Regions from separate parts of the Homo sapiens genome. Here all the other regions are linked to region 1. Evidence: promoter capture Hi-C in 16 types of primary human blood cells and fetal thymus (Javierre and others, 2016). All regions are on one chromosome and are shown on one strand. Each heading gives the region's core, a stretch centred on a gene start or on the middle of the fragment in contact. The rest is flanking DNA. Distances are from core to core; before and after follow the strand shown. Region 1 holds the start of TAS2R40 (taste 2 receptor member 40). Region 2 has its middle 21 kb from the start of KEL. Region 3 overlaps EPHA1-AS1 (EPHA1 antisense RNA 1). Region 4 has its middle 5.2 kb from the start of OR6V1. Region 5 overlaps EPHA1 (EPH receptor A1). Region 6 has its middle 8.9 kb from the start of FAM131B.

Region 1 (3,268 bases), core at 447-2,946:
ATTTGGGGTGGGGAAACCCATTTTTATCATTCATCAATTTATATTATTAAAAAATATAATGGACCAAGGCCCAAAATATAATGGACCAAGGTGTGAAGGATGGTAGCTCACACCTATAGTCCCAGTATTTTCGGAGGCTGAGATGGGAGGATTGCTTGAGCCCAAGAATTCAAGATCAGCCTAGCCAACATGGCGAAACTCTGTCTCTACAAAAAATACAAAACTTAGCCAGGTGTGTTGGCATGCATCTGTAGTCCCAGCTACTCAGGTGGCTGAAGTGTGGGGATCACCTGAGCTATGGAGGTCAAGGCTGCAGTGAGCCATGATTACACCACTGCACTCCAGCCTGGGTGATAGAGTGAGACCCAGTCTCAAAAAGAAAAATAATCAAATAAAAATAACAGGGTAAGCACACTGGAAAATGATAACTGGCACTCAGCTTCTGTGTCAAGAAGACACTAGGAATTAGTATTGTCAACAAACTGAAAAGTATATACCTTGTTTAAAATGGGCAGCCATTACTCAGCTTCAGCCAGTTCACTATGAAGACCCAATACTGCCAAATCTTCTAATTTTTCAAGAGAAGATAGATTTTTTGTGCATGCATATAAGTAATCTCCTAAGTTTAAATGTTTGCCAATAGAACCCCTCAAAAAGAAAAGTTACACACTGGTGGATTAATGCTGTACAGCATTAACCAATGCAAGGTAAAATGACTACAGGCCAAATCTGACCCAAGGCTCATTGGTTTCCAGCTAAGATTTTGGATCTCAATCCTGACTATGAGCAACAAGACCTTTCGGCTTTTTTAAAAGATAGCATGCCTGAGCCCTAGTCCAGTTCTGATTTCCTAGATTTGGACGAGTCCTGGGCATCTACATATTCTTGTAAAGTGCCAGAGTTCATTCTGGTTCACAGCCAGGGTTAAAAAGTAGGAAATTAAATTTCAAGTCATAGTACCTTATCACATTTCCAAACTTCAACACCATGTCCAGAACACTGAATTCTCCCCAGGCTCATTCTACCTGATTCTGAGCTCAAATAGTCATGTGGGATCTCAGTAAGCTGAAATTGATGACACATACACAAACAATAAAAACTGGGACTATGGAGACTTCCTTCTCTCCAACTCGAATAGCATCCAATTTTGGCTTTTCTATATACTATTCGAGGACATTATAATAGCAGGCCTTTTTGGAAGAAACTCAATTCTAAGTAAAAGATGTTCATATATGAGCTTATGGGAATTTCTTATTCACAAACATGGTAACTATCAAAATAAAACTCTCTCCCAAAATAAGAGAGACAAGAAAAGAAGTGGGGAAAACAGATTTTAAAAGCTGTATGAGCTTTTACAAATAATTTAGCAGGTAACAGAGATCTTGTGAGACAAGTAAAAAGGCCTTGTATTCATTGCTTATCAGGTAAATGTGGACTTAAAGTAAATAAGGTAAGAAGGTGTTGAGCTAGAAACATGTCTCAAATTATTTCCAGTGAGCTTCTGAAAGCCCAAGACAAATGTATCTTTATGAAAAATTGAGACAGACCCAGTAACCAGATCCTCTCATTATTTGCATGTGAAGCCTCTAACTTGTAGTCATGTGATAAACAAATGGAGAAAAATTGGAAATAACCATTAATGAGGGCGGCAGAAATTATAACATTGAGCAAGGGTCAGAAGATTGCAGAGCAGTTACCCATTCTTGGCGCAGAAACCTGAAAGTCAGGATCAAAGAGAATGGCAACGGTGAACACAGATGCCACAGATAAAGACATATCCAAGTTCAAGGTCACCTTCACTTTGGTGGTCTCCGGAATAGAGTGCATCACTGGCATCCTTGGGAGTGGCTTCATCACGGCCATCTATGGGGCTGAGTGGGCCAGGGGCAAAACACTCCCCACTGGTGACCGCATTATGTTGATGCTGAGCTTTTCCAGGCTCTTGCTACAGATTTGGATGATGCTGGAGAACATTTTCAGTCTGCTATTCCGAATTGTTTATAACCAAAACTCAGTGTATATCCTCTTCAAAGTCATCACTGTCTTTCTGAACCATTCCAATCTCTGGTTTGCTGCCTGGCTCAAAGTCTTCTATTGTCTTAGAATTGCAAACTTCAATCATCCTTTGTTCTTCCTGATGAAGAGGAAAATCATAGTGCTGATGCCTTGGCTTCTCAGGCTGTCAGTGTTGGTTTCCTTAAGCTTCAGCTTTCCTCTCTCGAGAGATGTCTTCAATGTGTATGTGAATAGCTCCATTCCTATCCCCTCCTCCAACTCCACGGAGAAGAAGTACTTCTCTGAGACCAATATGGTCAACCTGGTATTTTTCTATAACATGGGGATCTTCGTTCCTCTGATCATGTTCATCCTGGCAGCCACCCTGCTGATCCTCTCTCTCAAGAGACACACCCTACACATGGGAAGCAATGCCACAGGGTCCAGGGACCCCAGCATGAAGGCTCACATAGGGGCCATCAAAGCCACCAGCTACTTTCTCATCCTCTACATTTTCAATGCAATTGCTCTATTTCTTTCCACGTCCAACATCTTTGACACTTACAGTTCCTGGAATATTTTGTGCAAGATCATCATGGCTGCCTACCCTGCCGGCCACTCAGTACAACTGATCTTGGGCAACCCTGGGCTGAGAAGAGCCTGGAAGCGGTTTCAGCACCAAGTTCCTCTTTACCTAAAAGGGCAGACTCTGTGACTGGAACTCACGGAGTTCTGCGGGACCTGGTCCAACCACTTCTGCCTTTGCCTCAGGTAGAACTCTCTCCTCACCCGTCTCTTCTCTCCCAAACCTGCTCTGACACTTCTCAGATAACGTGATCCTTTTATAAATATGAAGCTGAATTTTTAACTTGAGATTCTAAACAGAAGTAACTAAGAAACCTGAAGATGGACTTTGAAAGCTCCTTGAACTATGTTCATTCATATCCTGCCCTGAGATCTCTCCACTTTCTTCTCCTCCTGAGCCTTAAGGAGAGGGTGGCCAGACATATCGGTTTGCCAGGGACAATCTCTGTTTATTGTCTGTTGTCAATTGAGCATCCTTTAATTCTCAAGAATATCATGGTCTGGATGAAGAATTACATGATCATCCTACTTAAGACACCCAACTAACACACAGTTAGGGCTGGTGAAGCAGAGCACAGCACTCAGTCCACGGGGTAGAAGGGAAACCAGAGTGGCTACAGAAAAAGAAGATTCAGGAAAGAAAGGCTGCTGGAAATTATCAAGTGCTGCAGAGTTCCGAGGAAAGTAA
Region 2 (3,268 bases), core at 556-3,055, 240 kb before region 1:
GGAGTGTTTTACTTCCAATTATGTGATCAATTTTATAGTATGTGCCATGTGATGATGAGAAGAATATATATCCTGTTGCTTTTGGATGGAGAGTTCTGTAGATACCTATCAGGTCCATTTGATCCAGTGCTGCGTTCAGGTCCTAAATATCTTTGTCAATTTTCTGTCTCTATGAGCTGTCTGATATTGTCAATATGTTAGACAACAGGGTGTTAAAATCTCCCTCTACTATTGTGTGAGTCTAAGTCTCTCTTTGTAGGTCTCTAAGAACTCGCTTTATGAATCTGGATGCTCCTGTATTGGGTGCGTATATGTTTAAGAAAGATAGCTTTTCCTGTTGACTTGAACCCTTTACCATTATATAATGTCCTTCTTTGTCTTTTTTTGTTTTTGTTGGTTTAAAGTCTGTTTTGTCAGAAACAAGGATTGCAATCCCTGTTTTTTTCTGTTTTCCATTGTCTTGGTAGACTTTTCTCCATCCCTTTATTTTGAGCCTATGTATGTCATTGCATGTAAAATGGGTCTCTTGAAGACAGCATACCAATGGGTCATAGTTCTTTTATCCAGCTTCCAGTCTTTTAATTAGGGTATTTAGCCCATTTACTTTTAAGGTTAATGTTGATATGTATGAATTTGATCCTTCCATCATGATGTTAGTTGATTATTTTGCTGACTTGTTTATGTGGTTGCTTTATAGTGTCACTGGTCTGTGTACTTCATTGTGTTTTGTAGGGGCTGGCAACAGTCTTTCCTTTCCATATTTAGTGCTTCCTTCAGGAGCTCTTGTAAGTCACATCTGTTGGTAACAAATTCCCTCAGCATTTGCTTGTCTGGAAAGGATCTTATTTCTCTGCTTATGAAGCTTAGTTTAGCCAGATATGACATTCTGGTTTGGAATTTCTTGCCCCCAATCTCCTCTGGCTTGTAAAGTTTCTGCTGAGAGGTTCACTGTTTTGTTTTGTTTTGTTTTTGAGATGGAGTCTTGCTCTGTTGCCCAGGCTGGAGTGCAGTGGTGCAATCTCGGCTCACTGCAGCCTCTGCCCCCCCAGGTTCCAGTGATTCTCCTGCCTCAGCCTCTTGGGTAGCTAGGATTACAGGTGCACACCACCATGCCCAGCTAAATTTTATATTTTTAGTAGAGATGGGGTTTTGCCATGTTGGCCAGGCTGCTCTTGAACTCCGGACCTCAGGTAATCCACCTGCCTTGGCCTCCCAAAGTGCTGGGATTACAGGCATGAGCCACCGCACCCAGCCAAGAGGTCCACTGTTAGTCTGATGGGATTCACTTTGTAGGTGACCTGACCTTTCTCTATAGCTGCCTTTAACATTTTGACCTTGGAGAATCTGATGATTACACGTCTTGGGGATGTTCTTCTTGAGTAGCATCTTACTGGAGTTTTCTGCATTTCCTGAATTTGAATGTTGGCCTCTCTAGCTAGGTTGGAGAAGTTCTCAAGGATTATATCCTGAAATACATTGTCTAAGTTGGTTCCATTCTCCCCAGTGTCTTTCAGGGACAATGATGAGTTACTCAATCTCTTTACGTAATCTTATATTTCTCAGAGGTTTTGTTCATTCCTTTTCATTCTTTTTTCTCCATTTTTGTCTGACTATCTTATTTCAGAAAGCCAGTCTTCAAGTTCTGAGATTCTTTCTTCCACATGGTCTATTCTTCTACTAATACTTGTGATTACATTATGAAATTCTCATAGTGTGTTTTTCAGCTCTATCAGCTTAGTTATATTCTTTTCTATACTGGCTATTTTGTCTGTCAGCTCCTGCATTGTTTTATCATGGTTTTCAGCTTCCTTGAATTGGGTTTCAACATATTCTTGTATCTCAATGATCTTCATTTCTATCCATATTCTGAATTCTATTTCTGTCATTTCATCCATGGCAGCCCAGTTCAGAATGCTTGCTGGAGAGGTGATGTGGTCATTTGGAGGAAAGAAGGGACTGCAGTTTTTCTTTTATTTTTATTCAAGTTTTGAGTGTTCTTCCATCAGGTTTTTTTTCTCATCTTTGTGGGCTTATCTACCTTCAATCTTTGAGGTTGTTGACCTTTGGATTTTTTTTTTTTTAAAACCTATTTGATGACCTTGAGGGTCTGATTGTGGTATAAGGTGGGTTCAGTGAACTAGCTTCATTTCTGAAGGATTTTAGGAAGCCAATGCTTAGCTCCAACTCCTATACTGTGTTCTCTAACTGGAGGACTTGCATTAGGCCCCAGTTTTGTTCTCTGGCTCTTTGAGGCATGGCATGCAGTGTGCTGGTGGTGGGGGTAGTGCAGTGAGGTGCAGCAGCTGTGGCAGAGTGCTAGTGGGTGCCAAGTGCCTGCCTCCTTGCAGTTGTTCACCACAGTGACAGAGGCAATGCAGCTGGGGTGGGGGACAGTGGGGTGAGGCACCCTGCTGGACACTGTGTATAGTTGCACTGGAGGTAGTGTTGGGTCTGGTGTGGGGTGTTGGCTGGTGCAGGGTGCCTTCTCTATGCCCCACAAGCAGGAGTGATTGTTCAGGGTGGAGGAGGATGTGCTGTTCTCTGCACAGTGTTAGTTCGGGGCCAGGCACTGGCAGGGGTGGGGCTTCTGACTCTGTGCCCACCAAGGTTCCATCTGCAATGGCAGCCTGCAAAGGGAAGTAGAGCAGACTGCTCTCCCCTCCACTGACAGGGCAAAGAAAACAAACCCCTTCCACTCATGTTGGCATGTGCCAGCAAAGTGATGTGGGGAGTTGCTATGTGCCTGGAGGAAGCTTCAGTATGGGAGGGAATGGTAGGCTTGTGTGTGGCCATGGAGCCACCCAGCTGGAGCTGTCCACTGATGAGGCACAGTCCACCAGCACAGAAGCTATTGTGGTGGGCCCCCAGGGCACTGGAGATTGCCCTGCAAGAAGGTGTGGCCTGGCTAGGGCCCTAGGAGAGGCCAGTAGACCAAGGGGTGTTCAGGTTGGACCAGCCTGGTCTGATGGGCAAGACCATCCTGAAAGATCAGGTCCGACAGTTCCCCTAGGGTTAAAGTCTCCTATGGGAGCAAGTCAGGCCTGGGGGATGGCCATCCCTGGAGGTGCACCACTGCAGACACTCCCACATCAAACCCTCAGGCTCCACATCAGCTGGCTTGCTGCCTGTACCGCTTCTCTAAGTAGTGCTCCCTGCCAACTCGAGTGTCCATGGTGGTTGAGGAGTCTCCTCCTGCCAGGTTCCAGAGGCCTGTGGTGAAATCAGGTGGTCAGAGGCCCTGGCACTATATTTGCCAAAAGGTGATCCA
Region 3 (3,268 bases), core at 1-2,500, 190 kb after region 1:
GGTTAAACAGGTTTAGGTTCTACCTTTGAATTGCTACATTGAGCGACTTTCATGGTTTATCCGGCTTATCTGTGTCTCTGAGAGGTTTAATCTTTCCAAACAAAACGTACTTCCTTTTTTTTTTTTTTTTTTTTTTTTTTTTTTTTTTTTTCAGGTGGAGTCTCGCTCTGTCGCCCAGGCTGGAGTGCACTGGCGCAATCTCGGCTCACTGCAAGCTCCGCCTCCCGGGTTACGTCATTCTCCTGCCTCAGCCTCCCGAATAGCTGGGACTACAGGCGCCCACCACCACGCCCGGCTAATTTTTTGTATTTTTAGTAGAGACGGGGTTTCACCGTGTTAGCCAGGATGGTCTCCATCTCCTGACCTCGTGATCTGCCCGCCTCGGCCTCCCAAAGTGCTGGGATTACAGGCATGAGCCACTGCGCCCGGCCGTACTTCCTTTTTTAAACTAGACTTTTGCTAACCCAAATGATTCTTTTTTTTTCTTTTTTGAGATGGAGTCTCACTCTGTTGCCCAGGCTGAAGTGCAGTGGAATGATCTCGGCTCACTGCAACCTCTGCCTCCCAGGTTCAAGCGATTCTCCTGCTTCAGCCTCCTGAGTAGCTGGGATTACAGGTACCTGCCACCATGCCCGGCTAATTTTTGTATTTTTAGTAGAGACGGGGTTTCACCATGTTGGCCAGGCTGGTCTCAAACTCCTGATCTCAAGTAATCTGCCCGTCTTGGCCTCCCAAAGTGCTGAAATTACAGGAGTGAGCCATGACACCCAGCCTCCTAACAACTTTTTAATTGATTAAAAGTATGCAGAGGCGGTCTGTAAGCAGTGCCACAGGTCCCAATTATACACCCTCCCCCTTAAACCCTGCATGTCCTCCCTTCTTCCAGTCAGTTTGCTAAGAGGAAGACACCCGATACTGTTTAGGAATCTGTCTTCTTGCTAGAAATAGAACTGTTTTGAGATAGAGGCGGTTGGAAGTTTTCTCTGAAGTGTCAAAAGCAAAGTTATATTTTAGAAGATTTTAATATTGTCACTTCATAGCCAAGTGATCTTGGGCAAATCACCTAGCTGTTTTGAGACTCCGCTTCCTCATCTGCAAAATGGGGGAAATGATGATAATGTTGTTGGTCATAGTATATGAGAAAAGTACAAATATGAGAAAGTGTACAAGCAAAAGCTTCTGGTGGCACCATGCAATTTAAGGATACATGTTTTTTATTTTTGTGTCCTCCTGTACAGGTTTATTTGCAAGATGGGTTTGAGGGAATTAAGGATAAAGTCTGCTGAAAGTAGCACCAGCCTCTGGATTAAAAGGGATGTTTGGATGAAGCTTCAATCTCAAGAAGAGGCAAGAGAAAACTAAAGAAAAAGGTAAGAGAGCCGGGTGTGGTGGCGGGCGCCTATAATCCCAGCTACTCAGGAGGCTGAGGCAGGAGAATTGCTTGAACCCAGGAGGCGGAGGTTGCAGTGAGCTGAGATTGTGCCACTGCACTCCAGCCTGGGCAACGAGCAAAACTCCATCTCAAAAAAAAAAAAAAAAGATGCTAAGAGAGATCACTTTCGACCCATTTACATTATGATGCAATATGAAAATAAAATAAATACCACTCTAACATTTTCAGGACATATGGCAATTCTCCCTGTGCTGATTTTTTTTAAATGTATCTCTGCAGTATTAACATCCTCTAAATCATTCTCTTTGTTTTAGAGACAAGAAGGTAGTTGACAAGCTGTGAACCTGCATTGCATTCTAGTGATGGGACACGTGGAAGGGGAAGCTGAAGTTGAAGGGTGGATGGTAGCAGCCACAGGGAGTGAGATGGGCTCGTTTCTGGAGCTGTTGGGAGAGAAAAAGGGAGTCAAACGGGAATTCACACAGGGTTGTGCATTATATCCAAGTGTGTATTCAGATACAAGCCTTTATCTCAATACCTTCCTTACCCCCATTCCGCACATATCTCATACCAAAGTACAAATAAAACCATTCCCAATTGTTCTAATATTTCATTTGATTTCTTGAGTCATGAAATGAAAATGTGGAGGGGTTAGTCATGTGAAGTGGCTGTGACTCAAATATCTTACGATGATATTTGTGCGCGTCTCATGAGAAATCATTGTGTTTCCACCTGAACTTGTTTGCTTGACTGCCTGAGAAGATAGTGTTGCTAACCTGAGAAGTTAATACGCTGCCTTAATGCTTGGGCTGGTAGAAGTGAGGGAGGGAAAGGAAGAGAACAAATGTGTCTCAGTGAACTGGGGCATGACAGAAATTTAATAAGAACAGGTTGAGACAAGTGTTAAATACTGGAATCCCCCGGGAGCACAGCGATAGCTTGGTCCTTGTCAAAAAGTGTACTGGTTGGAGCTCAGGAGGGAAAGAGAAAGTGATAAATCAGCCATGTCTTGAAGTCCATTTTAATTTAGCTAGCCTGCGAGAAGAGAGGGCTGAAATAAACTATCAGCTCTGTCTTCTGCATTAAGCAAGCATAATTTATTTGAAAAACATTCAGTTTTATTTCTAGCTAGGCTAGGAGTTCTTGTAACTTCTACAGAGGGTTGGGAAGAAGATCGGCATAACCCATGCTTACTATTTGAAGTTACTGGTTCTGTTGTCAGGAGGTAATATTATATTGTTGTCTTGTAAAAGAAGTATTTGATAAGTATGGGACCTCTTAATTGGGCACAGATTGGATTTCTTTTACATTTTGCTTTGAAGAAGTTATTTATAAAGGGATCGTAATAGGGTAATTTATATCTTTTTCTAACAAGTTCTAGTTTGAAAGTATTATAAATCTACTTACCCAGACACAGACACATTTGAACATATAGATAACAACCACCTCTGTTAAGAAATTAATGTACACATTTCCAAATCTATCCCTGAGTTTAGGCGATCCAGGCCATGGGTCATAAACTATGAGAGCCACCTAGTGGGAAAATTTGGTAATTGCACCTATATCTTCAAATTCTGGGTGTGAGAGCCACAGATAATTTCTGTTTATAAAATCTTAGAATACCATGGGAATATTTATCAACATGATATGAAAGTGACAGCGATTTTTATATATTCCTACTATTATAAAGATGGTAGGCCCTTAGGCTAGGAAGTAGCTTTCTTAACTTGACCTAGTCATCACAGTAATGATAGACTTTTGACCAGGTGAGGAAGGGAGGGTGGGGTGTGCCACCATGTTGCCTCACTTTTGGGCTTTCTGCTTTGGATACATATGAAAAAACCAGAAACCAAGTCACCTAGGAGGCGCTGGCTG
Region 4 (3,268 bases), core at 340-2,839, 170 kb before region 1:
GCGGAGGTTGCAGTGAGCTGAGATCACACCACTGCATTCCAGCCTGGTGACAGAGTGAGACTCTGTCTCAAAAAAAAAAAAAAAAAAAAGATATGGCTCTATGCCCCTGCCTCTTGAATCTTGTGTTGCTTGGACTCATAAAAGTATGGCAAAAGTGACCATATGTGACATCTGTGACAATCTTATTTGACAAGTAGATCAAATAAAGCCTATGATTTGTATTTGTTTTAGACATCTAAGCAAACTGTCTGGGATCAGTTGGGAGGATAAAGCAAGACATTTTGGCACAAGTACTGTGTATCATCTTTGTGCATAAAATGGGTGCCCCTTTCCATCAGGTAGATGCAGCTCCTTCAGCCCCCATGTGCCCCTTCAGTCTCTCCATCACCACCTTTGTACAGTCTACAAGCCACACAATTTTACTCAGGGGCCCTAATTCAGCTCCTATCTCCATCCACCACCAGGCAAGTGCCCTCTTGCTAGACTCTTCAATTCTCCAGGTGACCCACATCAATTCTCAAGAAAACTATTTTCTGTCTGATTCCAGCCTACAGGTATTATCATGTGAGATAATTTCTTCCTCCAATCTGTCTGAAAATCTAGCAGTTACATATTTCTGTGCATTAATAGGGAGCTACCCCATCCCCTGATTTGTTAGTAAGTCAGAATTGAGGGAGGAAACTCCCACTCTCAACTCTGCCAGCAGTGAAAATCTGCAGAGATGTCATAGAAGACAGCTGGAGATTGGGGCAGAAAAGCCCCCAGTCAGAGGATATCTGGCTTTGGGAGGCAGAGCACATCATGAAAACAAAGGATTCCTGTAGCATATAAAGAAAAAATTCAGGCATCTAGAGTGAGCCATTCAATCCTTCCTTACCTCCTTCCTTTACCATGAACAAAACGAGATGAGTTAAATAGTTGCCAAAAATTTGATCATAAATTTTCTTCTGTCCCTACCACCAAACATGTTCAAACATTCCATCCACCCCTTTCTAAACATATTGTCCTCGTGCCACTCCAAGTTGGCTTTATGCCAAAATGTAGAGAAAAAGAGTTGCTTTGTAGTAGCAATGGGCCAAGATTAGATATGGCACATCCAAGAAAAAGAGTACACCAGGGAGTAATCTGTGTCTCACCTAATGGCCAGGCACAGCTTTATGAGATTGAGTCTAATAATGCAAGTCAAAATGTCAACATATCCCAGGAAACAGTAGGGCAGATCTGAGCAGAGGTGCTGACATTTTTATTGTAGTCCCTGGACTCTCTTCCTCTTCTGGAAATGCACATTCAGAGATGATTACAGTGCAATCTAACGCCCCCAGGAACATATACAGCTCCTTTCTCAAGCTCTTCCCCGACTTCAGGCATTTTCTTCTTCAGATTTTCAAAAACAAAACAATAATTTTATTACAAAACAACTGAAACAAGAAGTAGCTCAGATTATCAGTTACTGATAAGCAGGTTGGTTTTTATGTTTGTGTATTTTGCCCACTTCCAAGGGCCTGAGTGTGATAATTACATATGGTTTGATGATGAAAATAAAGATGCTTTAGCTTAGATATTTGTTAGTATTTTCCAGATTACCTTAGAATCCATGAGGACTGGCCCACCTAAAACTGATTTAGGTCAGTAAATCTGACCTGTAAGAAGGTTCAGAAAGGGGGTCAACAGGAAAATAAACAGGAAAACTACCTTGTTTTATTCTGCTGCCCAAATTTGCTTGGGTTTCACGTAGAGAAACAAGCAGCTGTCATAGTCAATCACCACACAGGTGAAATGGGAGGCATGAGTGGAGAAGGATTATTTTTTGGCCAGAGGCTGAGGGGATACTGGAGTAGGAATCAATCTGGATCAAAGAAGCAATAACAATGGAAATGTCCATTAATAGACTGTGTGAAAAGATGAAGAGTTGACTGAGGAAGAAATCCCCGGGAGACTGAAGACTTCATCAATTCAACCATGTAAATGACTGCATTTCCCATTAATCTCATCAAGTGAAAGAAGAAGTTAACCAAAAGGAAATGGGGCAGTTCCTCAAAGCCTGGGAAGCCCAGGAGACAGAATTGAGTGGCACTAGAGTAGTTCCCCTCGCTGTTTCAATCCTAGCTCTTTCTCTCTGGGAAGGCTAGAAAGGAAACAAGAATTAACATTGCTCCACATGCCTTTAATCCCAAAGGAAATAAGGACAGATTTAGGATTATGCTCCTGGATTATGGAGCCTGCTCTATGTTATGATCATTTAACCGAGTTGACGCTACATATTTATTAAGGAATGAACACAATTGTGTAAAGATGAATGGATCTGGTCAAATAAGTGGTTCACCAGGCACCAAAGCTGCATGGTAGTCATTGCGATAGGCAGAGGAATGCCCCCTCAACGATGTCCAAGCCCTAATCCTTGGAATTTGTGAAATGTTGCTTTACATAGGAAAGGGGACTTTGCAGGTGTGATTGGGTTGAAGACCTTGAGATGAGGGGATTAGCCTGGGCGATCCAGGTGGGCTGAATCTAATCTTAGGGGTGATCCAGATGGGCTGAATCTAATCTTAGGGATTTGTAAAAGTGGAGAAACTTCTCCTCTGAGTTCAGTCAGAGGGCTAAGTGATGACAGAAGACGGTTCTGAGAGACACATGTGACTGGCTTTGAAGATGGACGAGGGAACAATAAGCCAAGGAATGTGGGCAGCTTCTAGAAGGTGGAAAAGCAAGGAGACTCCAGAAAGGAAGGCAGCCCTGATGACGCCTTGATTTTAGCTCATTGAGGCCTGGTCAAGTTACTGACCTGGAGAATTTGTCAGGTAATAAATTTGTGTTGTTTAAGCTACAAAATTTGTGGTAATTGGCTACAGAAGCAATAGAAAATGAATAGTCATGAAGGCCCATGTAGCCCCGACCTATGCTCCTGCCTTTCAATTCCCAAGCCCCTGCCTCCAGCCCTGCTCTGCCCAGGACCTGTCTTCCTACCTGAGCTCCCTGCTAGCAACTGGCTCCTTTCTTCTTCCTCCTCCATTTCTAGCCTTGTGACCTACATTTTTCTTTACTTTCTTTCTTTTTGTTTTTGTTTTTGTTTTGAGACGAAGTCTTGCTTTGCCACCCAGGCCGGAGTGCAGTGGCACGATATTGGCTCACTGCAACCTCTGCCTCATGGGCTCAAGCAATTCTCCTGCCTCAGCCTCCTGGGTAAATGGGATTACAGGCTAATTTTTTGTATTTTTAGTACAGACAGGGTTTCACCATGTTAGCCAGGCTGGTCTGGAACTCCTGACCT
Region 5 (3,268 bases), core at 507-3,006, 170 kb after region 1:
CACTATCTGCAACCTACCAGCCCTCAGCTCCCCACAGACTAGCCATGTGATCCAGAAGCCTTCCCAAACCCTGCAAGGCTGCTGCTACCTACCCCACCCCAGCCTGGCTGCCCAAGCTCCCTGGAGCTTGGGTAATAAGTGCAGCTGTATCTCCAATGTCCAGCAAACAGCTTGCACCAGTAGGTCCTCCAAAACTTCATGAATGGATGACCCTTTCCTTCACATGCAGAAATATTTCTATGGGGAAGGGGATGCATCCCAAGAATGGGCCACAGTACAACACAGTGGGATTGGCAAGGATGGCTCCGGGAGTGTCTTAGGTGAGGCTGCCTGAGAAGAGAAAAGATGGGCCCCCCACCCCCAAGCCCAGGTGAAGTGAGGGAACTGGGGCCCAGCCATAACTGATTTTCTGCAAATATGCATAATCTAAAGCTGACCTCTTGGACTCTCCCCAAGGGCACGTCTTGCCTCATACACTGGACTTGGTCCAGAGCTCCCCAGGCCCAGCGCTCAAAGAAGATTGGCTGAATGCCCATTTCCACTCTCCTAGCGCTGCCTCTGGGTTCCCTAGTCCTTCCCCTGCATGGTTACCTGGGGTCAAAGTTGGCAATGGTCCGCAGGGAGTGGGGGTTGGCAAGCAGTTGCTCCAGATGTGCCTGAAGCTTCTGGAAGTGTGGCCGGCGGGCACGGTCATATGCCCAGCAGTTCTTCATGAGCTCATACAGAGGGGCAGGGCAGTCCACAGGAGGGGGCAACCGGTACCCATCCTCAATGCTCTTCATAACCTGCACGGCGGGACAGGAGGATGCTCTAGAGTAGCAAGCTAACCTGGAGGCCCATGAGAAACCGACGGTCACACAAGATAATTGCAGTGGAGATCCTAGGATGGGAGGAGGTGGGAGGACCAGGGTGGGACGATCACAGTGGGAGGATCAGGGTGGGAGGAGTAAAGAGAGCAGGGCATGAGGTGAAGAACCAGAGGAGCCAGGAGTACAGAAAAACTGAAGGTCATGAATAAATAAAGATATTTGCAGGAAAAGGCCATGGGAGGACCTTGGGAGGAAATAAGAGGTGTGAATTGGAGACAAGATGAGGAAGAATATTCTGGGCTCACCTCCTGATTGCTCATCTCCCCATAAGGCTTGTCCCCAAAGCTCAGCACCTCCCACATCACAATCCCAAAGCTCCACACATCGCTGGCTGTGGTGAAGATCCGATGGGCAATGGCTTCAGGGGCTGTCCAACGGATAGGGATCTTTCCTCCCTAAGAAGGCACATGGGTCAGGGACGGAAAGTTATGGTGTCCACCTGAGCACGAGTCTTTCTGCTTCTTTTATTGTATTTTTATTTTATTTTTTTTGAGACAAAGTCTCGCTCTGTTGCTAGGCTGCAGTGCAGTGGCGCAATCTCGGCTCACTGCAACCTCCACCTCCCAGGTTCAAGCGATTCTCCTGCCTCAGCCTCCTGAGTAGCTGGGACTACAGGCGCCTGCCACCATGCCCAGCTAATTTTTTGTATTTTTAGTAGAGACGGGGTTTCACCATGTTCGCCAGGCTGGTCTCGATCTCCTGACCTTGTGATCCACCTGCCTCGGCCTCCCAAAGTGCTGGGATTACAGGTGTGAGCCACCGTGCCTGGCCAAGTCTTTGTGCCTATATACATGTGACTGTATGAATGGCATGTTACGGGGCAATGTGAATGTGCACTGGGTTTGTACCGGCCTCTAACCTGGGTTTCGTATGTGCCATCAAAGTCATCCAGGAGGCGAGTCAGGCCAAAGTCAGACACCTTGCAGCACAGGTTTTGATTCACCAAGATGTTTCTGGCAGCCAGGTCCCGGTGGACATAATTGTGATTACTGAGGTAGTTCATGCCAGATGCTATGCCCTGCAGCATGGCCACTAGCTGCCCAGGGACCAGCTGGTCCTCCCGCTCCTGCAGCAGGGTGAGTGGGTGAGTCAGGGGATGGGCCAGGTCTCCTCCCAGTGCCCAGGGTACCATGGTGCATCCCCCTCCCCAGCTAGTCCTCTGCCCTCCTCACCCTCAGGAAGGCATCCAGGGCTCCATTCTCCATAAATTCTGTGATGATCATGATCGGCTTTCCTGAGACACAGACACACATATCACACTCAGAACCGGGCTTCCTGCCCTTGGCCACACATCCTCCCTCCACTTCCAGTGGTTTCACCCCTCTTTCCTGCATTTCCCGCCCCCAGCTGAGGGAGACCACTCATCGTACGCTTTGTGACGACGCCTTCCAGATGCAGAATATGCGGGTGGCTAAACTGGCCCATGATAGTTGCCTCTCGAAGGAAGTTCCACCACTGGCCACCTGGGGATGTGTCTTTTAAGGTCTTAATGGCCACAGTCTTGCAGTCCTGGCTGGGGAGCCTCAGGGTCCCTCGATACACTTCCCCAAACTCTCCTGGGTAGAAAGAAAACAGGCTGTGGCCCGATGCACTGCAGGGCTCCTCCAGGGGACAGGCAGCAACCCCTCCAGTCCTCCGGCCCTTTTCTTTTCTGGAGAATCAGAAGCGTGGAGTGCCCTTCCTGGGACAGGGCGTGGGCTGTCCTTCCTGGGGAAGGTCAGAGTCTGGAGCTGGAGTGCAATGCCGTGACCTATTCACCACTGTCTCCCAGTGTTTGCACAGTTCTTGGCTCACAATAGGCGCTCGGCAACTGCAGGGTGAATGAACCCTGTGGAGCGGGACTGGGCCGTGCTCATGAAGAGCAAGCTAGTGCGGCACTAGTACCCAAGTGGCAGGGACGCTGGCTATGGCCGCCTCTCTTCTGTGAGCTCCTCTGGTCCCAGCTTGCCTGGCTCAGCTGCACAATTGGCAAGGACACCACCAAGCTTTGTTCTCCACTGAGATCCATTTCCTCTGGTGACCCAAGGGAACAGGGCAGCCCAAGGACACTGGGCCTCTGATGGGGTGGAATGCCAGGCTAGGGAGGGAATGAGTCCTACATTTGGGCATCATCACAGAACATCTGGACCCTCAGCACAGCAGCACCTCTGTGGATGAAAACAGTGTATTTAATGCCCTTTATCAGAAACTCCAAAACCACAGAAGCAAGTGTGTAGGAGACAGGGGTTGCTCCAGGGCACCTGATGAGGGGTTTTTAACAAGAACGCAATGGTTCAAAGAGGATACAGAGCAGAGCAGAGTGAGTACCTCTGGAAACTCTTGGACCAGAGAAGCCAGCTGGGCTGCCCAGGGAAGCGCTGGAAGGAAGGGGCCTGCTGGTGGCTCTGTGCTGCCCCACA
Region 6 (3,268 bases), core at 216-2,715, 150 kb after region 1:
GAAGGTCCAAAGGACACTGGAAATTTTGAACGCCAGGTGCTGGGTGTTTCTCTCTTTAACTTAAAGAAGAATTTCCTTTCCAACCTCTTTGTTCATGTATATGCATGAGGTGGCTAGTGGTAGTCAAGCCTGAATTTTATTACTGATGGTGGAAAACTGTGTTGGGGGCAGGGCCAAGGAATGCAAGCAATGTCTTCCTTCTAAGGTGGGAGCTGGAATTTGCCCCTTGATCTTTCTCTTCCTGGAGCTCTAGTTTCTCTCACAGCCAAAATTTTTGAAAGAGCTGCCGGCACTCATCTTCTCCATTTCCTTACTTCTCTGCACTCCTCAACTTACCCAATCTGGCATCTTCACTCTACTGAAGCAGCTCACACGGGGGGCTCCCCTGTCAGAGGCAATTGAACCAGAGCAACTCCATCTTGAATAGGAGCTGGGTAAAACAAGGCTAAGACCTGCTGGGCTGTGTTCCCAGACGGTTATGGCATTCTAAGTCACAGGATGAGATAAAAAGTTAGCACAAGACATAGGTCATAAAGATCTTGCTGATAAAACAGGTTGCAGTAAAGAAGCTGACTAAAACCCGCCAAAACCGAAATGGCGACGAGAGTAACCTCTGGTCTTCACTGCTACCCTCCCACCAGCGCCAACAAATGCCATGGCGACCTCAGGAAGTTACCTTATGGTCTAAAATGGGGAGGTATGAATAACCTACCCCTTGTTTAGCATATAATTTAAAAAAATACACACACATGAAAATGGGCAACCAGCAGCCCTCAGGGCTGCTCTGTGTGTGTAGTAGCCATTCTTTATTCCTTTATTTTCCTAATAAACTTGCTTTTACTTTCCTCTATGGACTCGCCCTGAGTTCCTTCTTGTGCGAGATCCAAGAACCCTCTCTTGGGGTCTGGATTGGGACTTCTTTCCAGTAACACCCTTAGCCTCCATGTTAACAGATTTTGTTCATTTCTAACCTTAAGTGGCACATCAGGGGCATTTCATACCCTCGTGAGGGACTCATGGTTACTCCCTCATTCCCAAACACTCTTTCTTGGTTCTCCTCTTGACTTTCCGGCTGCTCCTTCTTTGTCTTTTTTTGTTAGTTTTTTCCATTATTCATTCATTCATTCCATATTACAGGTATTTAAGGAGCACCTACCTACTCTATGTCAGTACCTCTCTAGGTTCTACGATCCAAAACTCCTGCTGTCACGGAGCTTATAGTCTAGTGAGAAGTGGTGGGGCAGAAACAGCAATACAACAATTAAGAGACTGAATTGTTTGGTGGGGGAGTGCCAAAACCCAGGATGGAATGATATATTTAAGGTGATAATTACTATGAAGAAAAATTAAGGAAGGGCCAGGCGTGGTGGCTCATGCCTGTAATCCCAGCACTTTGGGAGGCTGATGTGAGAGGATTGCTTGAGCTCAGGTGTTCAAGACCAGCCTGGGCAACATATGGAGACCTTGTCTTTACAAAAAGAAAAAGAAAATTAGCCAGGCCTGGTGGCACATGCCTGTGGTCCCAGCTACTTGAGAAGCTGAGATGAGAGGATTGCTTGGGCCTGGGAGGTAGAGGCTGCAGTGGGCCATGATTATGCCATTGCACTCCAGCCTGGGCAACACCGCAAGACCCTGTCTCAAAAAAAAAAAAAAAAAAAAAAAGAAAAGAAAAAAAGAAAGGAGAGGTGGATAATAATGAAAGGGCTGGTATATGTCATTCTAAACTGGATGGTCATGGGAGGCCTCACTGAGAGGTCAGCATGTGAGGAAGGCTATGATGGAGATAATGGGGTGATCCATACAGATGTCTGTGGAAGAACCTTCCCAGCAGAGAAACTAGCAAATGCAAGGCCCTGAGATGGGAATGTGCCTTACACATTGGAGGAACAGTAACAAGGCCATTGTGGCTGAGGCAAAATGATTGCTGGGAGATGAGGCCAGAGAGCATGTGGGATTAGTTTGATTTGATGTAGGTAGAGCCTAGGAAAGGTTTTTTTTCAATTTGTTTAATTTTCTCCTTGCAACAGGAAGCAAGGCATCAGCTATGCATGAGGATGTGGAAGGAGATGTGGAGAGAGAGGAGAAGGTCTAGAAGCCTTCTGAGAGAGTCAGAGTGGGAGAGTGGATGGAAAAACGAGACTGGTATGTTTATCAGGACGTAGAAAGGTCAGATGGCATCTGCAGCTCACAGCCATGGAGTTTACAATGAGATCTGTCAGAAGGGCTGTATGTTTTTCTGTAGTGCCACCCAGCTGTGTGGGTGCAGGCATGGAGTTGGTAGAATTGGACTCAGCCCAGGCTGGGGTTTTGCCAAGTGAGCACCACAGGGTGAGAAAGAGGCACAGGAAGTTGAGACAGATGTAAGGGAGTGACTGTAATGATTGTCCAGGAAATGTGAGCTGGTATGGACGTGAATGGCAAGTTCCAGTGGGCCAAGGGATTGTCGAAGCACAAAAAGAGAATGACTAGAAAAATAGAAGGAGCTGGTTGGAGAAAGTGTGGCTTAAAATTAGGATTGTACAGAGATGGCTCAGGGTCTATTTAGAACTTGCTATGCAATGTGGGAGCCACCAGCAATGTGTAACCTTTGAGCACCTGCAATGGGACTAGCGTGAATTGAGACATGCTGTAAGTGTAAAATACACACCAAATTCCCATGACTTAGTGCCAAAAAAGTAAAATACCTCATTAATAATTTTTAAGGCCTGGCACAGTGGCTCATGCCTGTAATCCCAGCACTTTGGGAGGCTGAGACAGGCGGATCATCTGAGATCAGTAGTTCGAGACCAGCCTCGCCGACATGGTGAAACCTCGTCTCTACTAAAAATACAAAAATTAACCAGGTGTCGTGGTGGGCACCTGTAATCCCACCTACTTGGGAGGCTGAGGCAGGAGAATCGCTTGAACCCGGGAGGCGGAGGTTGCAGTTGAGCCGACATTGTGCCACTGCACTCCAGCCTGGGCAACAAGAGTAAAACTCCATGTCAAAAACATTAAAAAATAATAATAATAAATAAATAAATAAATAATTTTAAAAATAGTGGTTACACCATTAGTGGTTACATGTTTGGGTATATAGGCTTACTCATTTATTTTTTTTCTTTTTATTCATTTATTTTTACTCTTGGCCAGGCACCGTGGCTCACGTCTGTAATGTCAGCACTTTGGGAAGCTGAGGCAGGTGGATCACTTGAGGTCAGGAGTGCCAGACCAGCCTGACCAACATGGTGAAACCCCATCTCTACTAAAAATACAAAAATTAGTCAGG

What was found. The method cuts DNA at HindIII sites, captures the fragments that hold promoters and counts their contacts. A CHiCAGO score of 5 or more calls a contact.
Region 2: a fragment that was not itself captured here is called in contact with the fragment with the promoter of TAS2R40 in region 1 in 6 of 17 cell types (naive B cells, M0 macrophages, M1 macrophages and 3 more); the score reaches 11.2 in naive B cells.
Region 3: a fragment that was not itself captured here is called in contact with the fragment with the promoter of TAS2R40 in region 1 in 9 of 17 cell types (M0 macrophages, neutrophils, total CD8 T cells and 6 more); the score reaches 8.1 in M0 macrophages.
Region 4: a fragment that was not itself captured here is called in contact with the fragment with the promoter of TAS2R40 in region 1 in 3 of 17 cell types (M0 macrophages, M1 macrophages and M2 macrophages); the score reaches 7.3 in M0 macrophages.
Region 5: a fragment that was not itself captured here is called in contact with the fragment with the promoter of TAS2R40 in region 1 in 1 of 17 cell types (neutrophils); the score reaches 5.0 in neutrophils.
Region 6: a fragment that was not itself captured here is called in contact with the fragment with the promoter of TAS2R40 in region 1 in 1 of 17 cell types (neutrophils); the score reaches 7.2 in neutrophils.

Annotation. Positions count from the first base shown.
Region 1 is chr7:143,220,341-143,223,608 of GRCh38, forward strand. TAS2R40 (taste 2 receptor member 40) reads left to right here and starts at 1,697. Exons shown (of 1, transcript NM_176882.2): 1 at 1,697-2,739. The coding sequence starts at 1,739. The coding sequence ends at 2,710. The HindIII fragment of the contact is 3,585 bases long and covers 1-2,200 here.
Region 2 is chr7:142,981,628-142,984,895 of GRCh38, forward strand. No RefSeq gene overlaps it. Among named protein-coding and RNA genes, the nearest start is that of KEL, 21 kb to the left of the region's middle. The HindIII fragment of the contact is 1,891 bases long and covers 861-2,751 here.
Region 3 is chr7:143,413,830-143,417,097 of GRCh38, forward strand. It overlaps EPHA1-AS1 (EPHA1 antisense RNA 1), which reads left to right. Exons shown (of 5, transcript NR_033897.1): 2 at 1,239-1,370. Among named protein-coding and RNA genes, the nearest start is that of EPHA1, 6.6 kb to the left of the region's middle. The HindIII fragment of the contact is 153 bases long and covers 1,175-1,327 here.
Region 4 is chr7:143,045,494-143,048,761 of GRCh38, forward strand. It overlaps the pseudogene OR9P1P. Among named protein-coding and RNA genes, the nearest start is that of OR6V1, 5.2 kb to the right of the region's middle. RefSeq lists an enhancer at 3,043-3,268. The HindIII fragment of the contact is 4,018 bases long and covers 1-3,268 here.
Region 5 is chr7:143,393,080-143,396,347 of GRCh38, forward strand. EPHA1 (EPH receptor A1) reads right to left here. Exons shown (of 18, transcript NM_005232.5): 12 at 2,240-2,425; 13 at 2,042-2,103; 14 at 1,729-1,935; 15 at 1,115-1,264; 16 at 592-785. Among named protein-coding and RNA genes, the nearest start is that of MIR6892, 12 kb to the left of the region's middle. RefSeq lists enhancers at 397-691, 2,429-3,139 and a silencer at 3,077-3,268. The HindIII fragment of the contact is 2,192 bases long and covers 661-2,852 here.
Region 6 is chr7:143,369,975-143,373,242 of GRCh38, forward strand. It overlaps a transcript of FAM131B not described here. Among named protein-coding and RNA genes, the nearest start is that of FAM131B, 8.9 kb to the left of the region's middle. The HindIII fragment of the contact is 7,431 bases long and covers 1-3,268 here.